Regions from separate parts of the Homo sapiens genome. Here all the other regions are linked to region 1. The links are contacts of gene promoters, found by promoter capture Hi-C in human tissues and cell types (Jung and others, 2019). All regions are on one chromosome and are shown on one strand. The core of a region is centred on a gene start or on the middle of the fragment in contact, and the rest is flanking DNA. Distances in the headings are between cores, read along the strand shown. Region 1 holds the start of OR9Q1 (olfactory receptor family 9 subfamily Q member 1). Region 2 holds the start of OR5B3 (olfactory receptor family 5 subfamily B member 3). Region 3 has its middle 20 kb from the start of OR5B3. Region 4 has its middle 24 kb from the start of OR5B17.

The links. The method cuts DNA at HindIII sites, captures the fragments that hold promoters and counts their contacts. A contact is called where the count stands out against the background at its distance.
Region 2: the fragment with the promoter of OR5B3 here is called in contact with the fragment with the promoter of OR9Q1 in region 1 in 1 of the 25 tissues and cell types used here (IMR-90 fibroblasts).
Region 3: a fragment that was not itself captured here is called in contact with the fragment with the promoter of OR9Q1 in region 1 in 1 of the 25 tissues and cell types used here (aorta).
Region 4: a contact is called between a fragment that was not itself captured here and the fragment with the promoter of OR9Q1 in region 1, in 1 of the 25 tissues and cell types used here (thymus).

Annotation. Positions count from the first base shown.
Region 1 is chr11:58,021,952-58,025,620 of GRCh38, forward strand. It overlaps OR9Q1 (olfactory receptor family 9 subfamily Q member 1), which reads left to right and starts at 1,930. Exons shown (of 3, transcript NM_001005212.4): 1 at 1,930-2,153. It overlaps LOC107984331 (a long non-coding RNA gene), which reads right to left and starts at 2,468. Exons shown (of 3, transcript XR_001748218.1): 1 at 2,136-2,468; 2 at 889-1,073. The HindIII fragment of the contact is 7,062 bases long and covers 1-3,669 here.
Region 2 is chr11:58,405,111-58,408,779 of GRCh38, forward strand. OR5B3 (olfactory receptor family 5 subfamily B member 3) reads right to left here and starts at 1,764. Exons shown (of 2, transcript NM_001005469.2): 1 at 1,691-1,764. The HindIII fragment of the contact is 8,045 bases long and covers 1-1,939 here.
Region 3 is chr11:58,385,027-58,388,695 of GRCh38, forward strand. It overlaps the pseudogene OR5B15P. Among named protein-coding and RNA genes, the nearest start is that of OR5B3, 20 kb to the right of the region's middle. The HindIII fragment of the contact is 5,532 bases long and covers 1-3,669 here.
Region 4 is chr11:58,333,368-58,337,036 of GRCh38, forward strand. No RefSeq gene overlaps it. Among named protein-coding and RNA genes, the nearest start is that of OR5B17, 24 kb to the right of the region's middle. The HindIII fragment of the contact is 8,330 bases long and covers 1-3,669 here.

The sequences.
Region 1 (3,669 bases), core at 680-3,179:
ATGATTCCTGACTTTGGTATAGCCCAATCTTTTCTTCAGAGTTTTCCCAGTTTGTAATCTCATTTTTTGTTGTTCAAAACCTCTTTTTTTTTTTTAAAAAAAATTATTTATTTTATTTATTTTTGAGTCAGAGTCTCATTCTGTCACCCAGGCTGGAGTGCAGTGGTGTGATATCGGCTCACTGCAACCTCCACCTCCTGGGTTCAAGCAATTCTGCCTCAGCCTCCTGAGTAGCTGGGATTACCATGTGTATGCCATCATGCCTGGCTAGTTTTGGTATTTTTAGTAGAGACAGGGTTTCACCATGTTGGCCAGGCTGGTCTCGAACTCCTGACCTCAAGTGATCCACCCACCTCGGCCTCCCAAAGTGCTGGGGTTACAGGTATGAGCCACCACACCCGGCCCAAAAGCTCTTTTACAGAGTCATTGTGGTTTTAAATATCAATTCAGTTTTCAAGTGAGAAAATGGAGGCACACAGAATTCAACTGATTTGCTTAAGCTCTTATAGAGTAGGGGTGCCGAGGGACTTTGTGGGGTTTTAGTTCTCCTTCATCTCCATCTGCCTCCTCAAGCCACCTCAAACCTACAATCTAAACAAAATCAATTTGCTTTTGTTATTCCAGGGCAGCTTCATGACCATTCCCAGAGTCCCACCAGATGGCCATTCCCATGCTGTCCCTTTATTGAAATTCTGTGGTCATCGCATAGTCCATAAGCAATAGAAGCAAAAGAGTAAGCAGGTTTTACCAGAGTGTACCTTTAAAGTTTCAAAGAACCCGCACATCCACTATCTCATCAATTCACAGAATGTTCTGAGAGACAACAAGAATAGATATTATTGCTGCCTAGAGATTAAGAGCTAGAAGCTCAGAAAGCTTGATTCTCACCTTGGTTCCTGTCTGCTATAGTGGACTCTCTGGCTTGGTTTGGGTCTGGGGTCTCTGTCACATATATGGCTGGAGAAGCCTCCCACTTATTTTCTTATACCTCAGTTTCCCATTTGTTCCCATCATAGGCAGACTATATGTCAGTAGCTTTGAGGAACAGATTGTATCTGCTCAGTATTGAAGTCCTGGAATAATGAGAGAAGCGCCCAGTTAATTGATCAGATTTTATTTTAGGAATATCACCCTCCCTGGGGAGGTGGTATGATGGAAAGATGGTGGGCTCTGGAGTCAGACTGGGCTGGATTCTCATCTGGACTCTGTCACTTACTAGCTGGTTGAAGCAGGGATTTTGAGAGCCCCACATACTAGGTCCTTTCCTCTTCCCAGCTACCTGGCAACTAAGCAAACCTAGGGCTTGGTGGAACAGAGTTTGAAAACAGCTGATAGAGTACAGCTTTCCGGGAAATTTAGAATTAAATTCTGTAGCTAAGAAAAAGAAATTATATGTAGAAATCAATTCAATTTGCCTCCCACCCAAGGCCATGAGAGCAGGCTGCTCCAGATATACAAGACATCATTCCTGCAGGCATTGTCAGTCTTGTAGTCCGTTGACAGTAATTGCATGGACAACACCCAAATTGATTGACTTTTCTGTAAGTATTGTTGAACTTCCTTTTCCTTAAATTTCCTTAAAAACAGGTAGCTAGAAATGGAAAGGAAACTAAGTACGCTGCCAACGTACAATCAGGAGCATGCAGCCACCCTTTTATTACATCAGTATATATTTATTGCATGTAGACTACATGTCAGTGACTTTGGCATTAGCAACACAGTAATGAACAAACAAACAAAGGCACTATCTTCAAGGAGCTTCCTTTTGTGTGTGTGTGTGTGTGTGTGTGCGTGATGTTATAGACAAACAAATAAATATCTACCAGATGGCAATGAAGCTGTGACCCAAAAAATCAAACTGAGAAGAGGGTCAGAGAGTGAAAGGAACTGCGTTTTCAGATAGGTGGTCAGAAAGGGCCTCTCTGTTAAGGTGGCCCTTGTGCAGGGAATTGAAGAAGTGCAGGAGGATGCCACACAGAGATGGTAGAGGGAGCGAAAGGAGCAAAGGCCCTAACTTTCCCTTAATGATGTCTCCTTCCATCTTTAGTCCAGCCCAGCAATGTACATGTTATCCTTCCCGTTTGAAGATGAAGACACTGAGGCTCAGAAAGATCAAACGCCTTTCCCAAACTCACAGCTACGGCCTGACGGAGGTAGGGTCAAATGCAGCTCCACTGATTTCAGAGACGGTGCTGTTAACACAGGGGGCTGTCTGCATGTTGGAAAGTGAGATGTGCTGTTGCTGTCACGTTGCAGTGGGAGTGGGGAAGCAGGCTGTGATGAGCTAGACCCAAGAGGAATCAGAGAGCAGGTCTCCGGGCTTCATCCTGGGCATCTCCTAGCCCCGCTGTCTGTCTCATAACACCCACCCACTGCGCCTGCTCACCTCGGTTTGTTGGCTGTTTTTTTTTGAAATCATTTCCTGGATCTTAGTAAGTTTATTTTCCAGTTCCTTTCACTTTTTGGGACTAGGCCCCCAGATGCCAGGTGGAGAGAACTGAAAGAGGGAGAAATCCAGCGTTTCTCACCAGGCTTGTCACGTAGCTACACAAGCAAATAGCTACAGGAACCAAGTTTCAATTTTCGTGCATGGGCCTCAAACTGTTTTTCCATATTTGTTAGGGAAAATCTTGGCCAGGGAGCACCGTCTTTTGAGGACACCAAATTGGGCCAAGTTCCTGTGCGGCCTTTCTCCTTATTTAGTGATTGCCCCGTGTGACCCTCTCCTCTCTGGCTGACCTCTTTTTTCCTGCATGGCACTTGGTGGATAAAGTTCCCTGAACCTTGGAGAGGAAGCGGATGCTGTTAATAGCCCTGGGAGTGTGACTGTGCTTTGCAGCTCACTGGAGCCTGTGGGATATTCCTCCAGCCTTGGCGGGGCTCCGAGCTGCAGGGAAATTAACCTCAGAGTCAGGGCAGGGAGCCAGGGTTGCAGGCACGTTGTCATTGGGTGAAATGAGATGGCAGAGGAAAATGGCACGGTGTGGAGGCTTTTTTTGTCAGAAGCTCTGGGGTTTGGCTCTTCTCTGTGCCATGTAGTTCTTTGATCTTGCCCAAGTTTACTTACTGTCTCTCTGAGCCTTCAGTGATTTCAATTGCGTGAAAACCAAGACAAATAACACCTCTATATCAAGAATAGTTCATAGGATCATAGTACAATATTGTGGGGATTAAGCCAGATGGTATCAGCCCATCAGAATCTAGCCCATGGGAGGGGCTCCGTAAATGACCCTTTCTTTTTGAGACGGAGTCTTGCCCTGTCGCCAGGCTGGAGTGCAGTGGCGCGATCTCAGCTCACTGCAACCTCCGCCTCCCGGGTTCAAGAGATTCTCCTGCCTCAGCCTCCTGAGTAGCTGGGGTGCCCGCCGTGCTACTATAGGGTGTGTCCTACAGGCGCACGCCACCATGACCAGCTACTTTTTGTATTTTTGGTAGAGACGGGGTTTCACCGTGTTGGCCAGGATGGTCTTGATTTCTTGACCTTGTGATCCGCCCGCTCAGCCTCCCAAGGTGTTGGGATTGCAGGCGTGAGCCACTGCGCCCGGCCTCCTTTCTCCCTTTTTGGAGAGAAGCTCATCTTCCTACCAACACATGACCCGAAGACGTGTTGGGGCAGGGGGGAAGAGGAGTAGAATTTGGATGCTCTGGAACTCTCGCTCAGAAAGAGTT
Region 2 (3,669 bases), core at 514-3,013, 380 kb after region 1:
ATAATTTAGCTCTCACTTATTAGTGAGAACATGAGTTATTTGGTTTTCTGTTCTTGTGTTACTTTGCTTAAGATTATGGCCTCCAGATTCATCCACGTTGCTGCAAAGGACATGATTTCATTTTTTAGGGCTATGTAGTATTCCATAAATCTAGTGTACAGATTACTATTTGACCCAGTATATACTCAAAAGGTAATAAGTCATTTTACTAAAAAGACAAATACATATGGTCAACCTAAATGCCCATCAATGATAGACTGGATAAAGAAAATGTGGTACATATACACCATGGAATACTATGCAGCCATAAAAAAGAACGAGATCATCTCCTTTGCAGGGACATAGATGGATCTGGAAGCCATTATCCTCAGCAAACTAATGCAGAAACAGAAAATCAAATACTGCATGCTCTCACTTTTAAGTGGGAGCTGAACGATGAAACCACATGGACACATGGTAGAGAACAACACACACTGGGGCCTGTCAGAGGATGGTGGGTAGGAGGAGGGAGAGCATCAGGAAGAAAAGCTAATGGATGCTGGGCTTAATACCTAGGTGATGGGATGATCTGTACAGCTAATCACCATGGCACATCTTAGCTATGTAATAAACCTGCACATCCTGCACACGTAGCCCTGAACTTAAAAGTTGGACTTTTTTTTTAAAAAGACACATGTACCTGTATGATCATCAGCACGCTATTCACAACAATGAAAGCATAGAATCAGCCCTGGTGCCCGTCAGTGGTAGACTGGATAAAGAAGATGTGGTACATATACACCATGGAATACTACACAGCCATGAAAAAAAGAATGAAATCAGGAATAATACTTTAAGTCTGTGTATTTGGATTGGGGCCTGGAGAAGGGTGTCCAACCAATACTAACTACTGTTTCCTACTGTCTTTCTTTTAAACACTTGGCAACTTCACTTCCCAAGCCTGACCTATGAAGGTGTTATGTTGCTAACTTTAACATACCTGACCGCATTTAGCATACACTATGTTCTACAACCAATAATAAAAACTTTATATATAAATAATGTGTGTGTATATGCGTGTGTGCGCATGTGTGTGTGTGAGAGAGAAAGAGAGAGAGAGTTAGATAGTATTATTACTTTATCGTTAAGAACATTGACAATTTGAGAAGTGATATGATGCTCCAAAATTATATGACTAGTTTGAGAGTCAAGGTTCAAGAGTTAAATCCATCTTCAATCTAATCAAAAGTCAAAACTTTCAGCCACATCACTGTCAACATAGGTAGATGCGCTAATAGTAATGAGATTATAAAAAAAGTTAAAACACAGGTCATAGCTCGTTAATTCATTTAACACCTTTTTGTAGTTTAAAGAATGAACATTTCACTTGTTTTTGTTTGTTTTTGGTTTTTTTTTTTACCACTCATGAGAAACCAATATATAACAAACAGATAAAATTACCACCTAGTCAGTCAGAGCATCATCTATCTTATTTTTTGTTCATATCTTTGGAGGAAGAAGCACATTTCATAAGAACCACTAAATTTCCTATAATGGAACATTTATGCCCTATGCCCACCTCAGTATTTTAGAAAAAATGTTGAAAACATCTATTTCTGCTCTCAAATAGCTTATAGTAGGTATAGCTGCCCCACTGCTTTTGCATGAGTTACACTTGTCTCTAAAATGTTTCTTAGATATAGAAGCTTACCTTACAGCTGGATGAGCAGAAACAGTCAATACAGAATAGTTGTTCTGCAATCAGAAAATCAGCCATGGAACATTGCATTAATATGTTTGGAGAAGCTTGCTTTCAGATAGTGGTCAACAGGTTTCAAGGTCTCTTAGGCATGGAGAAATAAAGGGAAGAGCATTAACACGGAAAAAGTCCTGAATCTACTATTAATTCTTTCTGTGAACTTAAAGGAATTACTTATCTTCCCCTTTCTTGAGAAAATAAACATGTTAAGATTACCTCTCTCACATAATTCACAGAATTGCATCTGTAAAGAACAAGTAAGGGAGGCCTGTAAAACATCTTGCTAAGGGGCCATCATGCAAAAATCAGTCAATGTAATTTTTAACTCGGGATGTTTTCCCTGAGCAGGGTTGAAGCTTCATAGCAAAGCCTCAGGTCAGAAGGCATGCATGAACTAAAAACAATTATCCTTTAGATGAATAAATTATGATCTGCAGAGCTTTGTACACAGTGTGGTCTCTCTAAAACTACATCATGTTGGGAGTCATGTTGGGATTTTAGATGCTAATATATGGAGACATGAGGAGAATTATAAGGGCATGGAGATCTCTGGAGATGTCCCCTGTGAGAGGATCTACAGCTCCTCATTCTACTTTCCTGGTGAAGAAGCAATTAAAGCTGCCGGTGGGGATCAAGCTTATTATTTTTAATATGTGCACATAATTTGTGTGCATATTAAATTTATTTTTTTCATTCTCTAATTAATGCATAATTTACATACAGTAATACCCAGTATTAATACACACTTTACTGTACAGTTCTAAGAATTTTGTCAAATACATGGTCACATAATGACTGCAACAATTACATAAAAAAAATTTTCTAAGCCGACTTTTTGGTAACCTCTTTTCCCACCCGCTACCCTGGCAACAAGTAAATTGTTTTTGTCCAAATAATTTTGCTTTTGCTAGAATGTCTTTAAATATAATCCTAGAATATGTAGTCTTTGAGTCTGGCATCTTTCACTTTCACTTAGCAATTGAGACCCATATATATTGTTGCCTATGTCAGAGTTAAATCTTTTTTATTGTAGAAGAATATTGCATTATGTGGACATTACAGATTGTTTTTCTCATTGTGCAACTGAGGAACATTTGTATTGGTTTTAGTGTTTGGTGAGTAGAAATAAAGCTGATCTAAACATTTCATTAAAGATTTCTGGGTGAGGCACTGTGGCTCATGCCTGTAATCCTAGCACTTTGGGATGCCGAGCGGGGTGGATCACTTGAGGTAAGTAGTTGAAGACCAGCCTGGTCAACATGGTGAAGCTCATTCTCTACTGAAAATACAAAAATTAGCCAGGGATGGTGGCGGGCACCTGTAATCCCAGCTACTCAGGAGGCTGGGGCAGGAGAATTGCTTGAACCCGGGAGGCAGAGGCGGAGGCAGAGGCGGAGGCTGCAATGAGCCAAGATTGCGCCTCTGTACTCCAGCCTTGGCTACAGAGTGAGACTCTGTCTCAAAAAAAAAGTTTCTGAGGTGAACATAGATTTTCATTTCATTTGAATAAATATTTATGAGTCAGATTGAATTGTTCTATGGTAAGCACATGTTTATCTGAATAAGAAACTGTCAACATCTTTTCTGAAGATATTCTACTATTTTGAATTCCCACTAGCAGTTCGTTCAAATTGTCTCACCTCTGTATCAGCATTTTATATTTAAAAATTTTTTAATTTAATTTTTATTTTACTTTTTTTGATTTTTCTCTAAGATATCTCCTTACCGATTTTCTTAACACTTATCTACCTTATCACCACAATTCTGGCCTGGGAATGCTTTTCTTTTCCAAAAAAGGAGACAGATTCATCCTTTTGCACACAGATTCATCGCTTTGCACTGTTGCTTCTGAGCCCACACCACACTCCCAAGCAGACTTATCACATCTCTCTTAGTACAAGCCAGTGTCATGATTAAACATTTGTTCTGTA
Region 3 (3,669 bases), core at 535-3,034, 360 kb after region 1:
CAAGCTCAACCTCAGGTTAAATGGTCTTCTCCACATAATCAGGATGTGGCTCCTTGTGGTTCAGCAATTTATGAACCAAAAAGAAAATTTAGCTCCTTCTACATTCACATCCAATACATAAAGTCATACCAGAGTAAAGATAATTAGCAAACACATACACAGACACACACACACACACACACACACACACACACACAGAAAAAAGTCATCCCCATGTATACAAGACAGTAATGGGAGGCACACTGGTTGGTTTTAAAATCTTACAGAATTGGCATTATGAAAGTCCCTCACCCAAGTAATGATATATATTTTTTTATGAGACCCTGATTTTTTTCTCTGGGGAAAACTCCATTTTCCATTGTTTTCCTTGGCTGCTGGTGTAATCTCTTCAGCATTTCTCTTCTTATCCATTATTCTTCATTACCATTTCTGAAGTGTGTTGAACACAAAATCCTGTCTAGCACAAAATAAAGGCAATTTATTAATAAACTTGCAGCAAGGAAACCATCTTCTATTATTTTTACTTCAGCAGGATTGCAAGTGTGTTAGAAGGGACAGTAAGCTCATTGAGTAAAATGGAATAAATACTGAACCAGTGAATCATTGGCAACCATCTTATTAAGATAAGACTTTTGGAAGGGGTAGAAACAATAATTGGTCTTCAGGTACATTTGTCAGTCCTTAGTTGGCTACAAGGTGAAAAGCAAATGGTTTGGAGAATTTCTTTTTTTTAATTTTTTATTAATTTTAATTTTTTATTTTATTTTATTATTATTATACTTTAAGTTTTAGGGTACGTGTGCACAATGTGCAGGTTTGTTACATATGTATACATGTGCCATGTTGGTGTGCTGCACCCATTAACTCGTCATTTAGCATTACGTATATCTCCTAATGCTCTCCCTCCCCCTTCCCCCAACCCCACAACAGGCCCCAGAGTGTGATGTTCCCCTTCCTGTGTCCATGTGTTCTCATTGTTCAATTCCCACCTATGAGTGAGAGCATGTAGTGTTTGGTTTTTTGTCCTTGCGATAGTTTACTGAGAATGATGATTTCCAATTTCATCCATGTCCCTACAAAGGACATGATCTCATCATTTTTTATGGCTGCATAGTATTCCATGGTGTATATGTGCCACATTTTCTTAATCCAGTCTATCATTGTTGGACATGTGGGTTGGTTCCAAGTCTTTGCTATTGTGAATAGTGCCGCAATAAACATACGTGTACATGTGTCTTTATAGCAGCATGATTTATAGTCCTTTGGGTATATACCCAGTAATGGGATGGCTGGGTCAAATGGTATTTCAAGTTCTAGATCCCTGAGGAATCGCCACACTGACTTCCACAATGGTTGAGCAAGTTTACAGTCCCACCAACAGTGTAAAAGTGTTCCTACTTCTCCACATCCTCTCCAGCACCTGTTGTTTCCTGACTTTTTAATGATTGCCATTCTAACTGGTGTGAGATGGTATCTCATTGTGGTTTTGATTTGCATTTCTCTGATGGCCAGTGATGGTGAGCATTTTTTCATGTGTTTTTTGGCTGCATAAATGTCTTCTTTTGAGAAGTGTCTGTTCATATCCTTCACCCACTTTTTGATGGGGTTGTTTGTTTTTTTCTTGTAAATTTGTTTAAAATTTTTTTTTTAAAATTTTACTTTAAGTTTTGGGATACATGTGCAGAACACACAGGTTTGTTACAGAGGTATATGTGTGCCATACAAGAATTTTAAATTCAAGCCTCATAGCTTTGTTACAGTAAAATAACTAGATTAGGTGACCACTCATAGGGAATTTCCATTCAAGTCGAAGATATGATAAACAGGTGAACAAATAATACCGGAGTTTAATGTTGATAATGATTTTGAAGAATGAAGTAGGCTGAGGAAAGAAGGTCCATGGGAGGGGAGAGGCTATATTATGAAGTAGTTCAGGAAAGGCATGATCTGCCTGGGTGGGTTAACATTTAAGCAACAATATTAAATGAGTATGGAAATTTTCTGAGCAGAGGAAACAGCAAATAAAGAGCTCCTAAGACAAGAGCATGCCTAGAGATGTGGGCCCAACCAAAGCAACGATGGTGGCACAACAATTTCAAAACATTTACTGCCAAAAAAGAGAATAGCATTATTATTAATATCAATGCTTTTTTAAAAAACAAAATGTGAAGTTGGTAGTCATATGGGTAAGGTAAAAGATGACAATATTTTCTCTGCTTTTATTCTAATTTGACTATCTTTTCAAGGTTGTCATGTGAATATGCTTTCTCTCACCAAATCACTACATAATGACTGAAACATTAATATTAAGATACTGTAATTATTTATATTTAGATAAAATGTGCCAATAAAAAACTATACTCTATTAAAACCAGTATCATATTTCTCTCTATTTCGCATGCTTAGAGCTATTTCTCAACTAAAGAAATTAATAATATAATAATATAATATAATACAGAAAGCTATTGCATAAGGTGGATCTAAGAGGGATAGAATGACTTTTTATGGATTTTACATTATTAAAAGACTAAACCCAGAAAATATTTTGTTTCCTCAACAAACAGTCTTGAATGCACTCTTGACCTCGTTGTTTCTCAGGCTATAAACCACAGGGATTAGCATGGGGATAACCATAATATGAAACACAGATACAATTTTTTCTGTGTTCATGAAATGATAGAACTTGGCTGCACATATGTGATGAGGACAGTCTCATAAAATAAAGGAACTGCAGTGAGGTGAGAACCATAGGTAGATAAAACCTTCTTGTATACTTAAAGAGAGCATCTTTAAAATGGTGACAAATACAAATACAAACAAGCAGGAAATCAAGATAACTAGGAGGGTAAAAAATATAGCTTGAAGTAGGAACAAGGATCAACTCATTAATATGTTTATTAGAGCAAGTCAGAGTCATGACTGCCAGAATATCACAGAAAAAGTGATGGATCTCATTGGACATAAAATGTCTCCAATGTCAACAGCAGCAGTCAGTAAACCTAAGACATGCATGTATGGCCAGAGAAGCACACACATTTGTTGTCATGGTGGTGGTGTAATGTAGGGGTTTACACATTACTCTGTAGCAATCATAGGCCACTGAAGTCAAGAAGTAACTTTCCACAGTAGCAAAGACTGCAAAAAAGAACATCTGAGCAGCACATACATTGTAGGAGATGACCTTGTGAGCTATCAGCAACCCAGCCATCATCTTTGGAGTGACAGTTTCTGAGTAGCAAAAGTCCACCAGAGACAGGTTACTGAGGAAAAAGTACATGGAAGTGTGGAGACGAGAGTCCAGCAGGATCAGCAGCATCATCCCCAGGTTCCCACTCAGAGTGAAGAGGTAGATGAAGTTAAATAAGACAAAGAGGTGGACCTGTAGTTCTGGGGCTTTGGTTAGTCCTAGTCATATGAATTCATTTACCTCTGTATTATCATCTATAGATGTGGTTTGAGACTCATGGGATGCTCTGTAGGAAAGAGAGATGATGGAATAGAGTGATGAGCAACAAAGACTTGCACATAAATGGAAACATGTAGCCTATGTTATGATAGCAATTATTTGTTCTCCAATATTCCTCATATCTGAGACTTAGAAATGGCAGTGCAATTAGTGGCTAACTTATCTAAACAGCAATAGACTTTGGAAGAGGAAATGGTCTTCAT
Region 4 (3,669 bases), core at 788-3,287, 310 kb after region 1:
TTGTGTTTTAACTTTTATACTAGAATTAAAATTGATTAACACGCTGCCACTACAGTATTACAGTATTCTGTATTTATCTATGGACTTACCTTTATTTTATACTTTCATATGGTTTCATGTTGCTTTTAGTATATTTTCTTTTTCTTTTCTTTTCTTTTTTTTTTCCTTTGAGATGGAGTCTCCCTCTGTCACACCCAGGCTGGAGTGCAGTGGCATGATCTCAGCTCCCTGCAACCTCCACCTCCCAGGTTCAAGCGATTCTCCTGCCTCAGCCTCCCGAGTAGCTGGGATTACAGGCACCTGCCACCACGCCCAGCTAATTTTTTGTATTTTTAATAGAGACAGGGTTTCACCATGTTGGCCAGGCTGGGCTTGAATTCCCGACCTCAGATGATCCACACTCCTTGGCCTCCCAAAGTGCTGGGATTACAGGGGTAAGCCACCACGCCCCACCATGTCTTTTCATTTTAGTTTGAAGTACCTCCTTTAGCATTTCTTATTAGACTGGTCTTGTGATGATGAACTCTCTCCCCTTTGGCATTCTGGAAAGGTCTTTAGCTGTTCTTCATTTCTGAAAGACAGTTTTTCTAGGTATCGTATTCTTAATTGGTAGTTTCTATTTCTTTTAGCACTTTGGAGATTTTATCCCCTTCCTCTGACCTGCAACATTTCTTCTGAAAAATCCATTGGTAGTCTAATGGAGGCTCACTTGTACTTCACTAATTACTTTTGTCTTGCTGCTTTCAAAATTCTCTCTTTGTCCTTGGCTTTTGACAATTTGATTATAATGTGTCTTTGGGTAATCCTGTTTGAGGTCCTTTGGGCTTCATAAATGTGGATATTCATTTTTTCCCCCAGATTTGGGAATTTGGGGCCATGATATATTTAAATAAATCTTTTGCTCTTTTCTCTATCTGTTGAGTCCTTGAAACTCCCATAACATGTATATCGTTTCAATTGATTTTGCATCCTAATTCCCTTAGGCTTCCTTCACTTTTTTATTCCTTGTTTTTTTCTCTGACTGTATAATTTCAAGTGAGTCGTCTATAAGTTTAATGATTCTTTCCTCTGCTTGATGAAGTCTTCTGTTTAATCCCTCTAATAAATTTTTCAGTTCAGTTATTTTTTTCTTCAGGTTTAGAATTTCTATGTGTTTCCTTTTTATCATTACTTTTTGTTATATTCTTATTTTGTTCCTGTATCATTTCCCTGATTTTCTTTTATCATCTGTGTTCTAATTCACTTAGCTCCTCTAAGATCATTATCTTTTTTGACAAGAAAGTTATAGATCTCCATTACATTAGGGTCAGTATTGTGTAAACAGGGCTAAGCACCCTTGTTGGGGTCCTTCAAGGATCACTTCTACACAGATCAAAAGCACTGAGAGAAACATAAAAACTTAAAATTTTATTATACTCACAGGTCTTAAAGAAGAGGCACAGTATTACCAGAGGGTCACATAATTCACCAAAAGCTGTGGGTTGAGCTTGGTTGTCAGGAAAACAGACAGAGGAGATGACTCATGGGTGAGCATTTTTATTGGGGGTAGTCATAGGTGGTGCAGCCATAGCATGAAGGCAGTATTTTTGTTGGTTAATTTAAATGTAACTAGGTCAAAACAGGGAAAGGAAGACATCAAATGGAAAGGTCATCATATGACTTATTGCCTGGCCACATATGTTGAGAGATGAGTGCTTGGTAGTGGACAATGACTAGGTAAAAGTTTAAAACAAGCAGAGAGAATGCAACTACTTTAGAGCCACTGAGGCAACAAAGAATAACCTTATATTACATTTCATTACTGGACATGTATTTCATTCCTTTGATTGTGTCATGGTTTCCTGATTCTTTGTGTTTCTTGTAGCTTTGCCTTGGTGTCTGTGTTTGAATAAAAAGTCCCCTTTCCCAGTCTTTACAAACTGGCTTTGGCAGCATGCTGAAAGACTAGAAGATTGAATATATGCCCCACTTTCTTCTCCCTCCGAGAGAAAATTTTAGACTGAGGCAATCTCTCAGTTGGTGCCGAGCTGTGACAACTTGAAAAAAGAGCTGATATGGTAAAGTGAAATTGCTCTTTTTACATGTTTCAATGTGACTGTTCTTAGTTTTGTACTTGTCTGGGGGTACTGCAACTATTTAACTAGATTCTGCACTTCCCGTAAAGTTATTTTGATCCACACATCATGGCAAATTGGTGTTTCTGTGGAAGACAAAGTTGGGCATTTCTACTCTGCCATCTTGCTGGCATCTCTACATCCTGACTTAAATTCTTTTTTGTATTTTCTATCTCTTTGCTCTCTGAACTGTATTTTGAACTATATTTCTCAATTTAACTTTGTCTAGTTTAATATTTATCCCCTCAATCAAAAATTGTATAAAACTGTTGTGAATGTATATTTTTTATGTTATCTTATTGGTTTTCTTTTCATATTTCACATTGCTATTTTTGTTTCATTTGTTTCCAACTCTTAAATGAGATTAGACTCCATCTAAAGTGCACAATCTTAACCATCTTTCCAAAATTCTGTGTCACATTAATTAACTTTTCTATGTATTACTTTCCTCATCTGTACAATTGAAAAAATAATATTTTTCTCCCTTTATAATAGATGAATAAAATAAAATAGATTATATAGAATACTTAGTGTAATGTTTGCTTCAGACTAAGTACTCATTCTCCTCCTAGATAGATTTGCACATATGCAAAGCTTTAGAACTTGTGATCACTTTATAATAAATATGTTCTACCATGTGCTCAGAATTAAAATATAAAGTTTTCCCAGCTCTAACACAGAAGGCATAGCTTGAATCTCTTTGACCTAATACATTTAAGGAGAACTGAATTCTGACTTTATAACAGTTTCTGTGTTAATCACTGTTATTAAAAAGTGAATAACGTGATTACTTATTATGGGGGCAGAGCCAATAAGCTCTGTAAATAAGCACCCAAACAGTAATAAGTGATATAATTAATATCTCTATAATATGTTATGAAATCACCATGAAAATGTTCAGAATGTGCCAGAGCACCCTACATGAATTTTCTTCTTCTGTGAGTTGCCACACTGTGATAAAACATATAAAATGTTCATCTAATTAAAGTTATTTTTGAAAAATAACTAATTTCTGTATTCCACTAAAATACCAAGAAGCCAATGCACTGCCCACTCTCTTATATATACTTCTAGGTATAAAGCAGCAAGAAATGACTGTTTTTCATCTAGAAATTCAGATATGCAGGCATGTGGATAAAATTGTACTGCAAAACACAAGATCAATTATAATCCTAGGTCTGTTCATAAAGAGCTGGGTATAGATTTGCCATGGCCATATCTTCTTAATTCACAAAATGAGATACCTTCTACCCCTCCTCATAAGCTGTGCTCCTACTCTCATGTGGCAATGAAAATGACAGTAGTTTGATAGCATAAAAGATATTAATATTTTTAAATCAGGCAATCTGAGCCATTACTTTTCATGGTATACTTAATCTCTTATTGGTTACTGTTCCACAATTTCTATTATGGTAATATTTTATAATTACTCTCCCTTTATTAATTTTTAGAAACTTTTTGATACATTGTTTTCTTGGTTTCATTTAGTTCTTTGTTCAAGACTTCCTTTAGCTCTATGAACATATTTAAGATATTTGTCTTAAAAATGCCAAAA